3 separate regions of the Homo sapiens genome follow, and regions 2 and 3 are each linked to region 1. The links are contacts of gene promoters, found by promoter capture Hi-C in human tissues and cell types (Jung and others, 2019). All regions are on one chromosome and are shown on one strand. The core of a region is centred on a gene start or on the middle of the fragment in contact, and the rest is flanking DNA. Distances in the headings are between cores, read along the strand shown. Region 1 holds the start of RCN2 (reticulocalbin 2). Region 2 overlaps ETFA (electron transfer flavoprotein subunit alpha). Region 3 overlaps LOC101929457 (a long non-coding RNA gene).

What was found. The method cuts DNA at HindIII sites, captures the fragments that hold promoters and counts their contacts. A contact is called where the count stands out against the background at its distance.
Region 2: a fragment that was not itself captured here is called in contact with the fragment with the promoter of RCN2 in region 1 in 1 of the 25 tissues and cell types used here (lymphoblastoid cells).
Region 3: a fragment that was not itself captured here is called in contact with the fragment with the promoter of RCN2 in region 1 in 1 of the 25 tissues and cell types used here (heart left ventricle).

Annotation. Positions count from the first base shown.
Region 1 is chr15:76,930,386-76,933,337 of GRCh38, reverse strand. It overlaps RCN2 (reticulocalbin 2), which reads right to left and starts at 1,589. Exons shown (of 7, transcript NM_002902.3): 1 at 1,353-1,589; 2 at 872-977. The coding sequence starts at 1,496. RefSeq lists a silencer at 1,147-1,896. The HindIII fragment of the contact is 23,440 bases long and covers 1-2,952 here.
Region 2 is chr15:76,244,881-76,247,832 of GRCh38, reverse strand. The region is part of intron 9 of ETFA (electron transfer flavoprotein subunit alpha); the gene reads left to right. Among named protein-coding and RNA genes, the nearest start is that of ETFA, 65 kb to the left of the region's middle. The HindIII fragment of the contact is 3,436 bases long and covers 1-2,952 here.
Region 3 is chr15:77,527,996-77,530,947 of GRCh38, reverse strand. The region is part of intron 1 of LOC101929457 (a long non-coding RNA gene); the gene reads right to left. Among named protein-coding and RNA genes, the nearest start is that of LINGO1, 100 kb to the left of the region's middle. RefSeq lists enhancers at 1-589, 590-1,431, 1,432-2,275. The HindIII fragment of the contact is 4,673 bases long and covers 1-2,952 here.

The DNA of each region.
Region 1 (2,952 bases), core at 340-2,839:
TTAATTGTCTCCAGCAACTTAATTCCTTGATGGTGAACAGCATTTAAATGAGAGTTACAGAAAAACAGCTAACTTAAGAGTCACAATAACAACCTGAATTTTTCTGAGGACCCACTTGGAACGCTGACAGGGAACATCATTTGAATTGAACAATGGGGAGAGACAACTGCACAGCAATTTATTTAGAACATTCTTTTAATAGTCTGTGCATTTCATTTCTGACTAGAGAATTTACCTGAGAGCATCAGATTTTTTTTTTTAACTGAAGGATATTAAAACCTGAATTAAGAGCAGGATACCTGGATTCTAGTCCAGCTTTGCCACTTATTTGTAGAAGGCACTTATCCCTGTGCTTCATTTCTTCATCTCTACAAAGTGATGTGGACAAGATGATCCCAAGGCCCCTACCAGCTCTAACATTTTGGTATAATGTTATAATAAACGTAATTCACAGGCAACAGGTCTTTTTCTACTTGCTTAAAAAAAGAAGCAAATTCCTAAAATTTAAATGAAGCATATATCAAAAGAGCGATAAATCATTTACTGCCTTAAAGTTTTGGGGCATATTTCTCTAAAATAAATCATATTGTTGACACTAACAAAAGTCACGTGAGAAAGAGGGTGTCTCAAGGTGTGACTTCCACATAGAGTACAGGGTCAATGATGTTTATATATAACTGGAGAAAGCACCGAGTTTTACTTGGTTCTCAGTGTCTAAAGATTTGTAAGTATAAAGCCTATTCTCCATGTCCTTTTCTCCTTCTCACAGGACTTCCAACTTGGGACACTAGCAATCTATACATTCAGCAGACACCGCTGCTTAACATATTTGTGTTTGTCTCCATTGTTAGTCGTGTAGGGCAGTCCTTACTTTCAGTGAGAAAGCCATCTGAGTCCAAGTCGATTTTCTTTATGATCGCCTGCAGTCTTTTTTGCTGCTCTTCGTGGCCGAGTTTAACATATTCATCCACATCTTCCTTTAGGGGGAAGCGACACACAGGAGGGCCAAGCATTACTATCAGTGGGGCAAAATGGTGGAGAAAAACAGGGCTACTAGAAGACCCCCTTGCCAAAGGGTTTCGGGGTGACCCGCACCTGCACTTCAAGGCCCCTACCCCCTACACACCCTCCATGATCTGAGGGGTAGAAGGGATCCAGCTCTTGGGCCGTGCTATCTCCTCAGGCTTTCCAGGCCCCAGGACCCCCAGAGAGCGAGTGCCGCGCCGCCCGGCCCCCATTGTCAGGCCGCCCCTGCCAGGCCTCGCCCGGCCGCCCCCCTTTGTCCCGGGACAAAGCCCGCGGCAGCCGCGGTGCGAGGCCCGGCCCTCCCAGCACCGGCCTGGCCGCCTCACCTGGACGCCCAGCAGCGCCTCGCGGTCGTAGTCGCTGCGGCGCTCGCCCAGCGGGTAGTGCAGCTCCTCGGCCTTGCCGGCGCCGGCCGCGGCGGCGCACAGCAGCAGCAGCCCCAACGCCGCGGTCCTCGGGCCCAGCCGCATCGCGCCGGCCCGCGGAGGACACCGAGGGACGCGAGGAGGGAGGCTGGCGGGGGCCCGGGCCGGCTGCGATGCTCCGCGGGCGGCTACAGAGAGGCGGTGCGACGTACGTTGAGGGCGGAGGGAACGGGAGGCGGAACCTGCGGTGGCGGCCACAACGCCCATGGACGGGCTGGGGGCCGGTCCACCAATGCGGTGCGGAGGCGCGCCAGGAGGAGGCCTATATGGCCGGCGCGGAGTGGCGGGGCACCAGGCCGCGCCGCTGATTGGGCAGCGCGGCGCTGGGGGCGGGCCGCCGCGATGTCGGGGTCAGCGGCCGCCCAGAGAGCTCCAGGAGCCATGCTGGGACTGCAGAGAGGGTAGACCTCTACGACCCGCGCCTTGTCGTTCCCCCGAAACGCTTCTAAAAGCACGCCCCCACCCCACTCCTGCCCACTCCTGGTCCACTCCATGTGCCCCTCCTACCGTCCATCAATGAGAGAGGCTGGAGGTTTCTGAGACAACAATACAATATCGAAAAAATTATTGCCTGAGGAATCGGCCAACAGTATTCTTTCTCAGTCTTCAATGTATCTATTTTATGAGAGTAGGACGTACAAACTCAGGAAGTGCAGCCAGATGCTTGTATCTGATGCTCAATTTCGTGATTTACAAGTTAATGTGAACTTGCTCAAATTTCTTGACCCCTGAAAACTTGTTTGCTCATCTATAAAATGAGCATAGTAATAAGACTACCTTAAAGAATTGTCGTGAAGATTAAATAATGTAATGGGTTTAGAACAATAGCTGGCACATAAGGTGAAGTGTTCAGTGAAGGTAGGCTTTCATCCATACAAGTAGAAAAACGAAAGATGATTGCACAGAAGGAATAGCTTAGTAAGTACCTAGCAAAACCTTTAGGGACAGAATGCATATACACATGGCTTCTATTCCATGTCTATTCACAGGTTTATGTAATTTCTCCACCTCAACCTGAACACATTAAACTCTAAGAAATTTGTAGGCTGCACCTTGAACCCTTTTCTTTATTGATTGCGCCACTTAGGATCAGGCCTTTCACAGAGAAGAAAAGGCTTTCTGGGTCCTCTTTCATTTCTCTCAGTCTCTATTTGGATTGGGAGCAAGAATTCTGTTCCAAACTGCAAAACTGGGTGGGCACAAGTCGCAGAAATTTCCTGGGTCGGGTTGAAATTTATGGTTTGGTCACAAACCATTGAAAGATTCACAGAGCAAAGTGTAAGTTCAATCTTTCCAATGTTATAAAGATCAACGAAGAACAAAGTTTTAAATTTCAGAATATAAATAAAAGCAAATTTTAGAGTTGATTTCATTAAACTAAAAAGAAAACCCTTTATTGCTGGATTTTAATTTTCACTTCCATTCTCGGTTTTGAGGAAAAAAAGAGAAAAATGTCCCAATTTAATATAAGAAACTCTGCTTTGTACCTGTTGTTCTCCAA
Region 2 (2,952 bases), core at 293-2,792, 690 kb after region 1:
CATGTAAAAATCTGCATTATGCATGTAAAACACCAGTTACTTAACACTTATTACACTCATTATTTGGTATGTTTTTGGACAGAATAGTGTGGAAACTGTACAGTATCAGTTATTTCTTCTACACTGCTCCAAACACGTACCATAATGTAAATAAGCAATGAGAAAATATGTTAAAGATACATGATGAATGCAAATAACTCTTAGTGAATAACCAAGACCACGTAAAAAAAAATGTACTGATTAAAGAGTTGCCTGAGTTAGATTTGGTGGTGAGAAGTGGGAGAAGGGGCTGTTATCATGGTTGCGGTTCAGTGGTGAGTCAAAATGTATGGAAAGATTCTAGCAAAGGAGCTTACTATTGGATCCTAAGAAGTGATGGACAGTTTTCTCCACTCCTGAGGTCCAGAAATAGATGGCTGTGAACCATTGTCTGCAGTCTTAGATGAAAAAAAATCTAAAAAAATGTATGTCTCCTTGTGTTCCTTTTGCTCGTGGTTATAGAATGTGAGCATAAGATATGGTCCTGTCAGGAAAATAGCTGAGATACAGCTGCTGAGTAGACTGGATGGTCTCTCTTAGATTCATAAGCACCTTAAATGTGCACTCCTACAAATCCTTGATAGTTGTTTTTTTAAATTTGAATAGTGACTCCTGGGTTTAAAAAGTACATATTGTAACAAATACTCAGATAGCGAAAATTCTTCAAGTGAGGAACATTGGATGTATAGATTAATTTGGAAAGAGTCAAAATCTTTGCAACATTTGATCTTCTATCTGTGACCATGATTTTATTTCTCCACTTGTTTAGGCAGTTTCATAATTTTTGTTATAAAAGTATGTAGATATATAGGAATGCAATTGATATTTATATACTGCTCTTACTAATTTATCTGTAGATTTTCTTGGATGTTGTACATACACAGACATATCTTCTGGGAATAATGAATAATGAAATTTTGCTTCATCTTTTTATTTAATTTTCTTTTCTTTTTTTTTTTTGAGACGGAGTCTTGGCTCCGTAGCCCAGGCTGGAGTGCAGTGGCATGATCTCGGCTCACTGCAAGCTCCACCTCCCGGGTTCATGCCATTCTCCTGCCTCAGCCTCCCGAGTAGCTGGGACTACAGGTGCCTGCCACCACGCCCGGCTAATTTTTTTTGTATTTTTAGTAGAGACAGGATTTCACCATGTTAGCCAGAATGGTCTCAATCTCCTGACCTCGTGATCTGCCTGCCTCAGCCTCCCAAAGTGCTGGGATTACAGGTGTGAGCCACCGTGCCCAACCAATTTTCTTTTCTTATTGTGTTAGCTGTGGCATTGTTGAACGGAAGTGGTGAGGATAAACATCCTTGTCCTTCATTTCAAGGAAATTACTCCATTGTTTCACCATAGGTATTATGTTGGCTGTCTGTTTTTAGTGGATACCCTTTATCAGATTTTAAAAAGTTCCCTACAATAGGCAGTGTCATAGAATAGTTAAGAATCCAGACTTTCTAGCCAGGTTGCCAGGATTCAGCCCTTGGTGTTGCCACTTGCTGGCTGTGTGACTTTGGACAAATCACTTAACCCCTCTGTAGCACAGTTTTCTCAACTATACAATGGTGATAATAATAATTCATACTTCATACTGTAGTATTAAAGATTAAATGATTTTAAAGATTAATATGTAAAACAGGCTTAAATGAGTTAATATTTATATAACACTTAAAAACTGTGCCTGGTATATAGTAAGTGCTGTGTATTAGCCATTTTTACAGTACTGTCATAAATCCTTGTTTTCTAAGAGATTTTGTTTTATTTTGTTTTGAAATTATGAACAGGTATTGAATTCTTATTTCTTTACCTGAGGTTTGACACACTTACTGGATTTTGTTAGCACATTAATATTTGTTGAACTTAATAGAGTCTCAGATTTACGCTACAACTAGCATTTAATTTCTATGGCCTTTTAAAGGTTGGCGTATTTGGTGGTAGTTTCCATTTAATACTTATTTCTAGATTGCCTTCTATTAGCTTTTTTGATGGTGCTGACCTTACCTTCCTAACCACCTGAACATATAAGCATATTGCAATTATTAAAGAATCTGTTTTCTAATGCCAGGGAAATGTGTTCTTACGCTTAGTGCAACTTCTTAGTGGGAGTAGATTATTTTGTGTATATTTTGGTATTTTACTAACAGACCAACTGTCCATTCATAATGGTGAGACTAAGTGAATAGAAGTCAGTTTAAAGTTACCAGGTGAATAAGCAGTTTTTGAAAAATGTATCAAGATAATAAATTTTGTTTCTGGGTTCTCTTTTGAAAATTCACTATTGTTGAAAAGTCTGTGTAGGAACAAACTTTATAGACTTACTTGTATACAGCTAGGACTGAATTTATGGGCTGCCTTTCTAACTTGCTAAAAAGCTGAAGATTGACAGCTGCTTTCATAGTGCTTTATCTAGCTTGGCTTTTAACTCCAAGAGAACTGTGTTCACAAATTGATGCTCTGTTCCTTTGGGGTTGGTATAGAAGCATTAAATTGTACTAAAATATTCATATGTGAGTGCATTTAGCTGAAAGCAATTGATGTTTTGTTCCCAAGAGGACAGAGAGAAATGCTGTATGGACCTGTACTCCAGAAAAAACCCTAAGCATGCTTCTTAAAGGTAATTACATGGCCTGGATTATCAAAGCCCATACAGTGAAGTTTAAAACGACAAAGAAGAAGTTGTAGAATTTATAAACTGTGGTTTGTATATATAAATTATTTGGTTGTACAATAGTTAAAAACTTAATTGCCAAAAAACTAGGAGTTTTAATTATATCTTTGGTTTGTCTTCTCAGCTAATTTTTACTAGACTGATTGCTCTAAACATTTATTCCAGAGGTCCAATATCAGTGAAGTTCTTTATCCATTATCATTTTATTATATAAAGTTAAAAATTGTAAGTTTCAGAGAGTGTTGAATTC
Region 3 (2,952 bases), core at 284-2,783, 600 kb before region 1:
CAACAATGCCTGCCCTCCTAGAGTTTATATTCTAATGCAGGAGAAGGAGAAACAACATAAGTAAGTTAATTACAAAGTGCCAGAAGGCAATACATCTGTGGAATGCAACAGAGCAGGGTCAGGACATGGGGAGGGCCAGGCGGAGGCGGTTTAAAGTCGAATGTTCAGGGCAGGTCTGGTGAGAAGATGAACATCAGGCTGGGTGCAGCAGCACATGCCTGTAATTCCAGCACATTCCACCCTCCTTGCCTTGGGAGGCCAAGGGGGGTGGATCACGCGGTCAGGAGTTTGAGACCAGCCTGTCCAACATGGTGAAACCCCATCTCTACTAAAAATACAAACATTAGCCAGGCGTGGTGGCATGCGCCTGTAATCTCAGCTACTAGGGAGGCTGAGGCAGGAGAATTGCTTGAACCCGGGTGGCAGAGGTTGCAGTGAGCCGAGATCGCACCACTGCACTCCAGCCTGGGCGACAGAGTGAGACTCCATCTCAGAAAAAAAAAGAAAAAAAAAGGATGAACATCAAGCAGAGACTTGAAGGAGCTGGGGAAATGAGCCAGCCATGTGGACCCAATGGGAGGAGTCTGTCAGCAGAGGAGCCGCCTGTGCGAAGGGCCTGAGGTAGCAGTGGGCCTGGGGTGCTTGTGGACAGCAGGGAGCCTGGTGTGGCTGGAGCAGAGGAATGGGAGAAGAGTGGGAGGCGATGATGGGGGAAAGGTGGAGAGAGAGGAACAGATCATGCCTTGGCATTAAAATTGCCCATGGGCAGATGGGCCTTCCTGGGCAAATCTGAAGGTCTCACAAATGATGGAGTCACATGGGGCTCATCACAACCAGAAGCAGAGTGGGAGTGGGGGCATCCAGCCCTCTCACCTCCCCTGGGAGGAGTCTTCTTCCTCCACCTCTCCTACCCTCACCCTGTGCCACCCCATGCTGCCCCTACCCCACCTCATGCTTGTGGTGTGTCCCCAGGGAGACTGGGCCAGGCTGGGTGAAGGAGGAAGGTCCATAGCCTTCCCCAGCCTAGGAGTCTGCTAGCTGCTAGTCTGAGTGAGCTTTGAACCTGCCAGGCCCTGCAGGGGCACTAGAAACCATTAGCAGGCAAACAAAAGGCCTGGGGAGGCCTATGAAGCCACCATGGAAGCCTACAGCTAGGTTTATTTCGAATTGAATAAAGAGCCCTGAAGCCCAGCCATAACCACCCGCTACTCTCCACACCCCTCCCAGACTCCTGACCTGAGGAAAGGCAGGCCCAAGGGCTTGTCCATGGCCACACAGCAACCGAGGCCAAAGCCCCGGTCATCTCCAGAGGGGAGAAGCTTTCTGTGCCCATGAGTGCAGGGCAAGCCACGGCCCAGAGAAGGCCACCACAGGTGAGGCCCACACCGGGCACGATGTGCAGAGTGGGTAGGTGGACACTGAGAACCCTTCGGGTGAGGCCCGAGCCAGTGAGTTCAGGGGCTGAGGGTCTCCTCATCTGTTTACTCGCTGTGTGACCCTAGAGAAGTGTCTTAACCTTCCTGAGCCCAACTGCAACATGGGGTTCCTAATAGCCCTACTTTACAGGGCGGCTGTAAAGATGAAGTGAGCTCACCCATCTAAAAGCACTTAGGCTACTGTGTGGCTCAGGATAAGTGTCATCCTCCCACTGCCTTCCCTCAAGTAAGAATGGAGGGGTGGGCAACTGCCAGGCGGTTCCCAGGCCTAGGTCCCCAGGGCAGACCCGCGCCTCTAGCGGAGCTCATCCCTGAACTGAGGCTGCCTTCCCCACCACCGGCCGCAGAGCCTCAGAGGCAGCCAACCAGACGGGCGCTTTTAACAGCTTTTTAATGTGATGGAGCTCGCTGAGCTTGGAGAGTGGAGGCATGTCAGGGGCTTGCCTGCGGAAGCTTTCAAGGTCAGCCAGCAGCAGCCTGACCTTGAAGCCTGTCCCTTCCCAGGAACAGCCCAGGGGCTGCCGAGACCATTCGCCATCAAGGAGGCCCTGGGGGCCCCAGCTCAGGAAAAGTATTAAAAAAAAAAAAAAACAGCGATGAAGAGGCGTTAAATGGATTAAGGAGGCAGGTGGCCAGAGAGGATGAGGGGCAAGGCTGTGCCAGGGACAGCAACAGCAGAGACCTCCTCCTCCAAGAGGCTTCAAATTGGCTTCTCCTCCCTCGTCACACGCCAAACAGTCTCCCAAGTGGAAAGACTGGGAAGATAAGCAACTTCCCCTTCATCTCCTCCTTCTCACAGTCTCCCCAGCAGGACAGCGCTGCTTCCTTCGTCCTGCAGATTCATAAAAATCAGGGTCATCTCCCTGAGAAATGGCTCAATTATCAGCTCCCCTCACAGAGAGCACAGAATAAGATGGGCCTTACAAAGTGGGGCCACCCACCAGGCCACCCGCACCCCAGCACACTGCCTCGGCGCTCCCCAGAGAAGGCAAGAACTCTGCAGGGAGGGCTTGGCACTGTCACCGCCCTCCTCCCCACCTTCTGGGGGCCTCTGCCACAGCCCTAGTGGTGGCAGGCCTGTCTAGGCAAGATGGGACTTCAGCCCCTTCCTAGCTGTTGCTGTGAGCAGGCCGGTGGCCAATGGCCTCAAGTCTAGTGTGTAGGCTGAGCCCCTCACAGCTCACCTGGCACTTCACTCCCATTATCCTCTGTAAGGCGGGGAGTGGTATACGTCTGTTTTAAAGACTAGGAAATTCAGGTCCCTCAGCCAATAGACAGAGGAACTGGAATTCAAATCCAAGTTCTGGTTCCCAGACCTGGGCACTGCAGAGCCCGCATGGGGAGGAGACTTATAGGCCTCTCAGCAGCGGGTCACATTCTCAGGGACTGGGGGGGCTCCCCCAGCAGACAGGCCAAGGAGACCCCAGGGAGAACAAGAGCAGAGGGCAGCCTCTTCCCAGCTTCCCTTCTGCCCAGGGCCGGGGTCGTGGCCAGGGCACAGTGGGGAAGGCCAGGC